3 separate regions of the Homo sapiens genome follow, and regions 1 and 3 are each linked to region 2. Evidence: promoter capture Hi-C in 16 types of primary human blood cells and fetal thymus (Javierre and others, 2016). All regions are on one chromosome and are shown on one strand. Each heading gives the region's core, a stretch centred on a gene start or on the middle of the fragment in contact. The rest is flanking DNA. Distances are from core to core; before and after follow the strand shown.

What was found. Contacts are between HindIII fragments. The CHiCAGO score rates a contact against its expected background, and 5 or more counts as called.
Region 1: a contact is called between a fragment that was not itself captured here and the fragment with the promoter of KBTBD8 in region 2, in 1 of 17 cell types (fetal thymus). The highest score is 8.5, in fetal thymus.
Region 3: a contact is called between a fragment that was not itself captured here and the fragment with the promoter of KBTBD8 in region 2, in 2 of 17 cell types (fetal thymus and total B cells). The highest score is 11.1, in fetal thymus.

The regions. Positions count from the first base shown.
Region 1 is chr3:63,965,934-63,969,589 of GRCh38, reverse strand. All of the region lies in intron 5 of ATXN7 (ataxin 7), which reads right to left. Among named protein-coding and RNA genes, the nearest start is that of PSMD6-AS2, 36 kb to the left of the region's middle. RefSeq lists enhancers at 468-527, 538-617, 1,058-1,277. The HindIII fragment of the contact is 159 bases long and covers 2,192-2,350 here.
Region 2 is chr3:66,996,958-67,000,221 of GRCh38, reverse strand. It overlaps KBTBD8 (kelch repeat and BTB domain containing 8), which reads right to left and starts at 1,915. Exons shown (of 4, transcript NM_032505.3): 1 at 1,851-1,915; 2 at 1,031-1,241. The coding sequence starts at 1,866. RefSeq lists enhancers at 95-194, 2,158-2,257 and a silencer at 1,498-1,817. The HindIII fragment of the contact is 2,180 bases long and covers 1-1,951 here.
Region 3 is chr3:63,911,531-63,915,297 of GRCh38, reverse strand. It overlaps ATXN7 (ataxin 7), which reads right to left. Exons shown (of 13, transcript NM_001377405.1): 3 at 2,375-2,710; 4 at 2,073-2,141. The coding sequence starts at 2,699. It also overlaps SCAANT1. Among named protein-coding and RNA genes, the nearest start is that of ATXN7, 50 kb to the right of the region's middle. RefSeq lists a silencer at 2,397-3,236 and an enhancer at 3,567-3,646. The HindIII fragment of the contact is 2,350 bases long and covers 1,343-3,692 here.

The DNA.
Region 1 (3,656 bases), core at 1,022-3,521, 3.0 Mb after region 2:
CACTCCAATCCAATTTTTACAAAAACATAAAAAGAGAGAGAATAAAAGGAACCTGGTAAAACTCAATTTAGAGGAGCTGCCTTGTTTTTGTTTGGTTGTTTCTGTTTTGTCTTTTAAAATAGAAATTTCTGTGTAGGAATCCCAACAGGGAGCATCATCTTCCCACAGTCCAACAAACAAGAGCAACTCTGCAAGGTACAACGAAATGACAAAACTATCTGCTGAAAAGTGCTACACTGAGCCAGTCACAATCCTTATTGCCATTTTCCACTGGTTTTATATCCTTTTTATATCACCTTATTCTGGGTGGGGGAGGGCAGAATACCTGAAGACCAGAACATGGAAATAAGAAAAACCTCACATTTTGAACACAGCCTTACAGATTCCTTCATTATACATTCTTTTAATAAGGAATGAGTGATTAATTACCCAGGAATGCCAATGTTTTCAATGAGTCTGCAACACACATTTATTTTTTCTGAAGAGAGAAACAGTATCTGCTCCACCTGCATGCCAGGGCTGTCAACTAATAAAACATCAGAAGTGACATGCAAAAACGAAAGCAGAAACAGTGAACCTAAAACTGTCTGACAAGAGTTTTCAGAAAAATCAATTATAGAGAATCAACAGCAATTTGATTAAAGGTTTAAGATCTTTTCATATTTAAAGTCCTACAACTGGGGAGCTCAATTTCAACCTCAATTAAAACCTTCCGGTCAAGCTCATTATTACACAAGGCATGAAATCTGAATCCCCTGAAAACTGAAGAACTCAATTGACACCTCACTTCCCGCATGAAGACAGAAGGTCTGAGACAGGTAAGGTAATATTGAGACCAGCCTCCACACATCCACCCAAGAATCAGCTTAGCTCTGCTGGCTACCTTAATAACACAACTAAAAAAAATCATCTTTTCTGGCAGTCAGTCCATAATTAAATTTTTATACACTCAATTTAAGTTACTGAATGACTTCCCAGGGTTACTGTTTGTATTTTGAAGTTGTTCTTCCTCTTGACGCAGTGTTCTGTTTGAAACTTTGCTGTGGAATTGAAGTATCTGACAAAACAGCTTTCAAACACATTCTACAGGAAACACTGCAAACTGCCTGTCATGAAACCTCACTTACCACAAGTAAGATAAAAAACAAACAGTTAAAGCGTGTTACAACGTTCCTCCATTTTTAGAGAGAGATGTAACCAATACTCTCTCTGTTTTGAGATATGGGAACTGTTTGGTGCAAACCTCAGCATTTTGTTGGAGTTAATAACAAACTCGGCTCCCGTCTGCATCTGAACTTTGGCCAGATCACTCAAATGACATTTCAGAATGGCTTCTGTGGACAGCTTGCAGCAGCTAATCCCTGTGGCTGCGATTACCCACGCTGATCCCCTAGCTCTGCAGGCTCCCTCCCTCCACTACTTGAGCAGCAGAACCCTCCTGGCCTGCTGGCAAGGCAAGACAAATGCCAGGAGGAAAAAGGCCTGCATAAACTCTTCCCAAATCTGCTTGGTTCTATGTAAGGTTAGCAAAGACCTACCCCACCGTCCACAGGCTCATCCAGAGCTGGGCCCTGAGCCAAGCCCAGACTCTGAAAACTGCCTCAGAAAACTTACCCAGTGGAGCTTTCAGCTCCTGCGCAGAAGGGCTGCTTTGGAGAGGCGTCTTGCTACCTTCCATTCACAGAATTTGGTTGTGCTTCATTGCACACTTGCTACTGCAGGCTTGCATCATGATTTGGGTCTGCCCACCAACTCCAAATATGCTCCATGTTTGGGCTTATGTAACATTTGCTACTACTGTAAAAAGCACTTGAATTACAAAGGTCCTGGCAGATCAACAGAAAACAGGGGGTGGAGTCTAATTTCATCTAATATGGTCATACAAGGCGTCCTGGCTGGTGTAAATTAATCTTTCTATTGGAAAGGCAACTTGTCAAAACTGGGGAAGATGGAATTTATAAGTTTAACCTGCTAAAATGCAAATTACTTATATTTTGTGAATTTTTTTTCTGAATACCTTTAAACTGACAAAGCTACTACCAGGTATATTACAAAACTTACATGATTTATTTAAAAACCTACATTTTAAGTCTCGGTAGACCTAAAGGTCTTAAAGTTAAACATTTCTATAAAATACCTGCAGCATTTTTCCAGGTTTTATTTCCCCTATACTATCTACAGTTGCTAAGCTTTTCAAAAAAAGTTTATTATTCCTAAGCATACTTTTCCTTCCTAAATCTAGTAACAAAATATCTGAACCCACTTTCTGTGCATATTTGTAAAATATGTATAATTTCATATCCACATTTGTCCAGTTTGTTGTTCAATCACTAGAGGACTGACTAAAGCTTTCATACTTTTAAATCCAAGAATTTCTCTCACTGAGTGCCCCCTTGAAAACAGTGTCTTCCTGGCCTGTTTCCCTATCATCCCTATCACACTCCCTCTCTCTGGCCAATCAACAAATCTACTGTCAAATGACACAGAATGGGGTGTAATGGCTCACACCTGTAATCCCAACTACCTGGGAGGGTGAGGCAAGAGTCCAGGAGTTTGAGGCTGCAGTAAGCTATGACTGTGCCACCGCACTCCAGCCCAGGTGACAGAGTTCTAATAAAAACAAAACAACAACAAAAAATCCCCACAAGTGACATGGAAAAAACTGCCAAGTGATCTGAGTTTTATGATAATAATGACTTAGATACCTGATAGTTCAAAATGAACTCTTTTAAATGTCAAAAGAAGCAGCAAAAGATTCTTCTACAGAATCCTATCACCCCATACAGAATATTTGGCAAAAGTCATGAATTACATATGTGGAAATGATTTAGCCTGAAAGGTGCGGGGAAGAGTTCTGAGAGAGGCATGAAAACGGCTTCTATTAGACCAAATTCTAAATTGACTCTAAAACAGAAGAACAGTAGCTGCACTGCCCTATTTTCACAAGGATTCAGATCCCAACCCATGTCAACAATACTAAGACCCAGGGGGTTTTCTGAAACCCACTTTTTTTCCCCCAGATTCCTTACAGTAACGTTCATACAATCCAAAACTATGGAAGCCCTTAGAAGACACTAGAAGAACGCAAGGGAAGAGCCATCAGCAAGCCTTAGAAGCACAGGATGAGGATACATCTCCCAAATCTTTTTAAAAGCTCATAAGCGAAAATAAGAATTTTAAGTTAATTCACTGAAGCTTTTCTTAAGCTAGAAAAAAAAAATTCCATGGCTGTAAAACCTGATTGCCACAGGTCTTAGTATTGTTCACCCTACTTCACCTGCCCTCCCTGCAGGGGTAGCCAAGGAATCTCCTTAATGCCATCAATAGCAGAAAAGAACAGGGTAGGAGGATCTTTCTGGAGCTAAATCTCACTTCCCTATCACTGTACTTGTATGACAGAACACCAGAGTCCTTGCTGGCCTTCCTAGCACAAATGCTTGCCTTTCTAATATTCCCTTTCGTACACAGTGATTGTACGAAATACAGTGGGGAAAAATATCGTTATGAGAGTCAGCCAATCCAAGACAGTTCTAAGAATCAAGTCGTTCTGCAACCCTGTAAAAAACCAGGGTGAATTTTAGCAAATGTTCTTAAATGCTACAAACAAACGTCTATATTTAAGTTCACAAATAAACAAGAGAAAAACGAATTTTAAC
Region 2 (3,264 bases), core at 666-3,165:
CATCACAAGCATCAGACTGAAGTGACTATATTTAACCCAGTATTCTGAGAAAGAGGAACCAGAAACTACTGTTGGAACATTATATGGTTATGTGCCCTATAAAGGTAAGCACCTTCAAAAGGAAAAATCACATTCAGAGTGTGGTTGATAACTTTACTATTATTTATGCACCACTTGTGAATACTGAAAGGCTTAAAGTGAGCATTTGACACAAAAGAAGTTAAGCCCATGCAGAAAACTGCCTTTTCCACTCATCTTAAAGTAGGAAGTTATTTTTCAGACCCAAGTTTTTAAATTTTACTTTTAAAAGTTTTATAGTAGACAATATAAGTAAAAACAAAAACTTCGTTTAACATACTTCTAGAAATCTTGGATATTATTAATTTGGGGCCTTAGGCACAAAGAAACTATATTCATTCTTGCTTTGACCCCCATAGCATTTAAACAATCTATTGAGTGGTAATTTGTTTTTGAAGGAACATGCTACATGTTTTAAACTATTTTATAAAAGAGTCCCATACACTAAAGAAACATGCATTATGGATAACTTTTTGAAAGAAATTCTAGATCAGCACTGTCCAATAAAATTGTCAATGATGAAAATGCTGTATTTCTGTGCTGCCCAATATGGCAGCCACTAGCTGCAGGTGACCAGCAAGCACTCAAAAAGTATTTAGTGTACCTGGGGAACTAAATGTTTTATTTTATTTAACTTATAATTTAAGTTTAAACAGCCACACATGGCTACTGGCTTCCATACTGACCAGCACAAGTCTAGATTTTCTGGTCATTTACCTCAAACACACACACACAGGCCCACTAACTTAAAAAGCAATCACCCGAAATCTAGAAGAATCCCTCAAGTCAAAAGAAGGTCTTAGTTAAGAGAGGACTTGTTTTCTAGTCTCAAGAAACAAAGTCATTGGTTTCATTTCATTATCGCATCTCAATATAAACATCAAGTGGACAATACTGAGGGGGAAAGGGAGCTTGGTGCAGATACCAACAGAAGTTCCTACCATCATCATACCTGAAGTAAGGGCTGATTGCAGCAAGAACGTTTCTATGACAGGAAAATGTTTTCCCGTGATCCACTTCCACTACAATGTCTGTCAACTGTCCTTCATCGTACATTGTTTTGAGTTGCTTAAGAATACTGCAAGCATGGAAGGGGTCCATGGCATCGCTGGCTGGGTCTGAAGATGGAATCCCATTCGGTGTTGGGGAAGACTTACTTAAATCTAGGAGGAGAAAAATCGTACAACTACAAGAAGTGCCGAGCCAGTTACGGCATCGCGGGATTTTTCTGTTTGTGTGTCTGCTTGCTAGGCTTTTTCCCCCTACAAGATATATACAAATGTCTGTGGATATACGCACGACCTCGTGGGACCGCGAGTTAAGGATCTGGGAGACAGAGGGCGGAGCGCGATCGGCGGAACAAGTTCAAAGGCCAGCCTGCTCCTGCGGAGCCCGGCGAGCCCGGCACCCGTGCTCGCGGAGGAAACGCGCTCGCAGCCCAGGAGAGGCGTCTGCGCGGACTCCGCCGAGAGCCGAGGGCAGAGCCTCACGAGGGAAGCTCGAACAACGGCGGCCGCCGGTGCCCCCTCAAGCCGCCTCCCGCTGCCTCCTGGGGCGCAGCGCCGGCGGGTACCCAGCCTCCCCATCCCGGTCCCGCCGGACCGCCCACCGCCCTCCGCACCATTCATCCTCCCTCTTCTCATTCCCCTCCACCGCTTCATCCTTCCCTCTAGCTCCGCACCGCTACGTCCTCATCCCACTGCCTGTGGCCGGCCCCGGCCCACCTTCCCCCTCACCTCCCTCCACGCCGCCCTGGCCACCACACGACCCACCTGCCGACGCGGCCATTTCTCGATGGGGCCCCGACTCCAGCTATTTAAAAAGGAAATGTCATTTCGCTTCTCTAGCTCCCGGGTTCCGGCTCTTCTAAGCTTCCCCTGGCCAATGGGGTGTCCTGTGCATCTGGCTCCACCCCTAGCCTCCGAATTCCTGGCGCTGATTGGCCACGACGCGAGCACATGCGTGTCGGGAAATGTAGTTTGATTGCCCCGGCTCCCGCGTGGTCCGGGTCGGGCGGAGGCCCAAGCCGGGAATTCCTATTGGCTGATTCGGATGGAGGTGGAGAGCAGGGAGCTGGCCAGCCTGTGGCCGTCGAGCGCGCAGTGCCTGCCGGGAGAGGTAGTCTTCTGGCGGAGGAGAACTGTCATTCTGAGGGGCTGGGGTAGGGAAAGCTCTTCAAGTGCGAATTTCCCCATTTTAGGCCTCTCTCCTGGCCCCCGGCACATTTTTTTACCTTTTTCTTCTTCCGTAAACTTCCTGCCAGTGACTAGCTTCCGGTATGAAATCAAGCTCTGCGTGAGAGCTGTAAAACCAGAAAAATGTGGAAATGGACAGGAGGGCTGTTGTCCAAAAATGCAAAGGAAATCTGACGTCCCACCCTGAAGAAAAATATCACAAGGCCCAAAAGCAAGGCGTCTCTGATGAGTCACCTATGACACCCAATTGAAATAGCATCGCCTTGGCCGGGTGCTCTGGTTTCCACAGATTAACTTGGTCTGGTTACAGCGGCTGCTTAGGATCTTCAACTCCCACTGGTGCCTTGCTTTTCTAGCACACCCAGAGAACACCTGTTCCTCACGTGAACATTACAAGGGGATCCAAGATGCTTTACTTTTTGCTCTTGGGAAATGGAGGGGATACAATACTAAGTATTCCGGAATTTCCTTTGAAAAAATACCGGAATGCCCTGAGCCCGGAGCCAGGGATGATTACTGAAGCCCTGGCTCTTTAGTCACTATATGTGAGAACTGACATAAGACCTTTCAACCCCTGAGCGCTTAGATCCTTCATCTGTAACGTGAAGTAATAGTAATCCGTACTCCATGGATTTCATAGGCTGCAACCTTTTGGAAAGAAAATCAAAATTTTACTGTTGACGAATTTTTATTTACTCATCTTGTGTTTCTAACATCTAACGGGGTGCCTGGCACATTATAGATGTTTCATATTTTAAAAATAAATGTAAGGTGCAAATGAGCTAACATTGGGAATGCTATTTCTAGATGTTAAAATGTAAGGAAGTATCAGCGAATGGGAAGAATTTCTAGTAGACATATAGTTAGCCCGTGTGCATAACTTTTCTAGCACTGAAAAGATCAAACCGTTGAACTTCTTGATAAAGAAAGGATCTTGGAATTTAAATTGTGATTGAGAAAGAGAAATAATTATGAAAAACAATTCAGTTCT
Region 3 (3,767 bases), core at 1,268-3,767, 3.1 Mb after region 2:
TCCTCTAAATGGTTAGAACAACTTTAAAAGGGGGAGGAGGGGAACCCTTAAAAAACACTAACAAGGGCCAGGCGGTGGCTCACACCTGTAATCCCAGCACTTTGGGAGGCCGAGGCAGGTGGGTCACGAGGTTAGGAGATTGAGACCATCGTGGCCAACGTGGTGAAACCTCCTCTCTACTAAAACACAAAAAATTAGCTGGGTGTGGTGGCCCGCCGCCTGCAGTCCCAGCTACTCGGGAGGCTGAGGCAGGAGAATCGCTTGAACCTGGGAGGTGGAGGTTGCACTGAGGAGGTGGAGGTTGCACTGAGCCAAGATCGCACCACTGCACTCCAGCATGGCCACAGAGTGAGACTCCGTCTCAAAAAACAAAACAAAACACTAACAAGATCCATGTCCCTTTTGTGCCTCAAGTAGGTAGTTTAACGTCTTAGTTCTTCATGAAAAACATGCTGATAAAAGTATCCCAACAGAAAATAATATATCTAGCAAAAATGAGGTACAGTCCCCTTAATTTGGTTGGGTCCCTGTCCAGCTCAAGGTACCCACTGAAACATTAATACACTTAACTCATCCTTTACAGCAGAATTATTGATAATTACAATCTTGTTTTCACACAGATTTAGAAACGTTTTATAGGATATGTATCCACACCCAGAGAATGAAAACTAAGAACAAGAGTAGGTCAGGTCCTCTAAAGTTCTACTCTAACTGCTTACTGTGAGAGTTGCCACCTAGTGATTTTAATTTTTTAAGCCCAGGCAGGCTGCCAATTCAGCACTAAAACCGGACTAGCAACTGATTTTTCATATTGCAACATCATCAACAAGTCCTGTGCTTTCCCTTGCTTTCCTTTACCCTCAAATAGCAATTCTCATTTTAAAAATCAACTAATTTGTTCTATAATCTGTTCCAATTGGAAGCTCTCATCGGGCTGTCACTGGTATTACTCTTCCTCCGAGTGCCAAGAGGCCAAAAAGCGCCCAATTCAAAAAAACCGAAACAGAGTTAAGTGAAGAAAAAGCAGGTGTGAAAAGCGAGAAGGAAATGTGAAGACAGTAACAATGGGCAAACTTTGGACTTAAAAATGTTCCAGTTGCCAAAGTTCTACCTATCCTTGGGCCATAGACAACAATTCTGCAAAATAAATGGCTACGAGTGAGAAATAAAATTGCATTCGGGGACTATAAACTCAGTATTCCGGGGCCAAACCTCACTCAAAGCCTTGTCCTAACTCACTGAAAGAATAACTTGAAACTGAACCCGAAGTTCACTGGACTTCAGAAGTCCTTTCTGACCACGGTATGCCCAGGCCTAGTGCAGGTATTAGACAACAAAAGCTTACTATTCAAAGAAAAAGAAAATCTCAAGAAAAAGTCTGACACTTTCCAGATACCTGGCCTGACTTTCATTTGGAGGCATACCCTATTTCCCTAGTGTATCTTTTTACCAAACAGTTTAAAACTAACAAATAATTAGACCCTGATTTCACCAGCCACGGGCAGTAAAGGCTTATTTGACCAAATAAAATTCTGGCTTTCTTTCCCCCGTGATATTGGCAGCTCGCAAAAAATCTGACCAAAATGCACTCCGGGTTATGATGACCTTTTTCTAACATCCCCAACTTGTACCTTAAATCCTACAGAAATAAGACTGCATAGGTAAAGCATCTTCTTTAAGTTCAAAATTCGTTTCGATTGCCAACAGAAAATGTCCCCTAAGCATTCGTGGAAAGGTTTCAAAGCTGAGAATTCCTTCCTCTACTCCTGTTTCTCCGTAAGGAGGTCAGAAATGCAGAGATCTAGGTTAAACTTCCCGCCGGTTCCCAGCGCTCATCACCAATAATGCTGCTCCTGCCTGGTCACAGAAGGATTCCGGACGCTCTCATTACAGGAGGCCCCCAAACCAAACTTTCCAAGCGCTCTGCCCCCTCCCTCCCTCCTCAGGCAGCATCTTCGCAGGCACGGGGAGTCGGGGAGTCGGTATGGTGGGCTGATGTTCCCGGTCCCAGTGAACTGTCAATGAAACTTCCCAGGGGTTTGTACAAACTCCATCAGGGGGGCTGGACTCACCTTCCCGACAGAGCCCCATGACTTCGCGGTTTTTCCCAAACTCCTTGAAACTTTCGTCCAATTCTGTCCCTAGGAGATATACACACACAGGAGGAGGGGAGAGGCAGGTCAGTGGCCAGGAGTGTGACGCACACTCACGCACGCACGGGGTAGGTGTGGGCACCTCCGCGTTCCGCAACCCAGCAAACGATAGCATCTCTGCCCCTCGAGGGGGCGGGTCACAGGAGGGGGGCAGGGGGGAGGGGAGGAGAGAGGAGGGGGTCGCGAGGGGGTGAAGGGGGGAGGAGGGCGTGGACACTCACCGTCCTTCCCAGGAAGTTTGGAAGCCTCAACCCACAGATTCCACGACTGTCCCAGCATCACTTCAGGACTGGGCAGAGGCCTGCGCTCCCCGACCGTCGCCATTGCGGCGGCCGAGGTGGAGGCGGCGCCGGGCCCGCCGTCCTCCGGCCGTGTGCGCCGTGGCGGCGGTGGCGGGTGCTGCTGCCGCTGGGGCTGCGGAGGCGGCGGCTGCTGCTGCTGCTGCTGCTGCTGCTGCTGCCGGGCGGCCGCGGCCGCTGCTCCGCCCGCCGCCGCCGCCGCGCGGCGCGGCTCCCCCCTGACGTCATCCGCGGCCCGCTCCGACATTCTTTCCGCTCCTACAATGTAACAAAAAAAAGGGGGAAAGAGTCGCGCGGGGGCCGTTTTTTAAGGAGGCGCCAGGGAGTTCCGGCGGCGTGCGCGGCCCGCGGACCGGGTGGGGCACGCTGACAGCGCCCCCATGGCCGCCCAGCCCCCCGAGCCCGCCTCCTCAAGGCCACCCCCCGCCCCGGGCTCAAAGTCCGCGGCGCGGGCTAGCTTTCGCTTTCGACTCCCGCGGCCGCCCGAGGGAGGGGACGGGCAGCAGGCGGCCCGCCACCGCGGCGCTGGGTCCCCTGCCTGCTTCTGCTCAGAGGACCTGGCGCGGAGGCCAGCGCCGGAGCGGCCCGGCTCCAACCCCGCGCCCCACCATGGCAGCCCGCGCGGGGAAGCCCGAGCCGCACCCCAGGACCTCCAGCTGCCCACCCTTCGGCCGCTTGCATCCCCGGGCCCGGCCCGGCTGCCCCGCTCCTTCCTTCCGTCCGCGCGTCCGTCCGAGCGGCGGCACCCGGCCGGCTCCCTTAAGCGGAGACGCCTCCCGCCGCCTCCTCCCACTTGCCGGTCCCTCCCTCTCAGCTCGCTCCGGCGAAGTTTGCACGTCAAGCCCCCGGACTGGAGCCAGGGCGAAGTCGGAAATGCAGCCACCTATGGAGGAGCCGGCCGGCCGGCCCCAGGGCAGCGCGGGAGAGGCTGGTGCAGGGGGCACTTTGCCCTCGGCTTGCGGGCGGCCGCAGAGTTGTCAAAAGCATGAATGGGAAGCCGCCGCAGAGCGGACTCCGGGCGTGCAGGGAACCTTGGGCTAGCGGGGAAGTGCCTCCCAGGTGTCTGCCCAGGTGTCAGGACGAAGTACCGTGTGCACGCCACGCCGCCCACATGTGTGCCCCCGACCCGCAATTGGAAGTCACACTGTGCGCCTGGGGAACTTGAATTCGTCCAGCAAAGAGAGAACATGAGATCAGTGTGCGAGGGAATGGAGGAGAGTGAAACAAACCGAGAGAAGCTTTAACCCGTGTACATATTTTAGAGGCACCACCCCAAGTTTCTGGAAGTGATTCATTCACCCCAAAAGTAAAAATC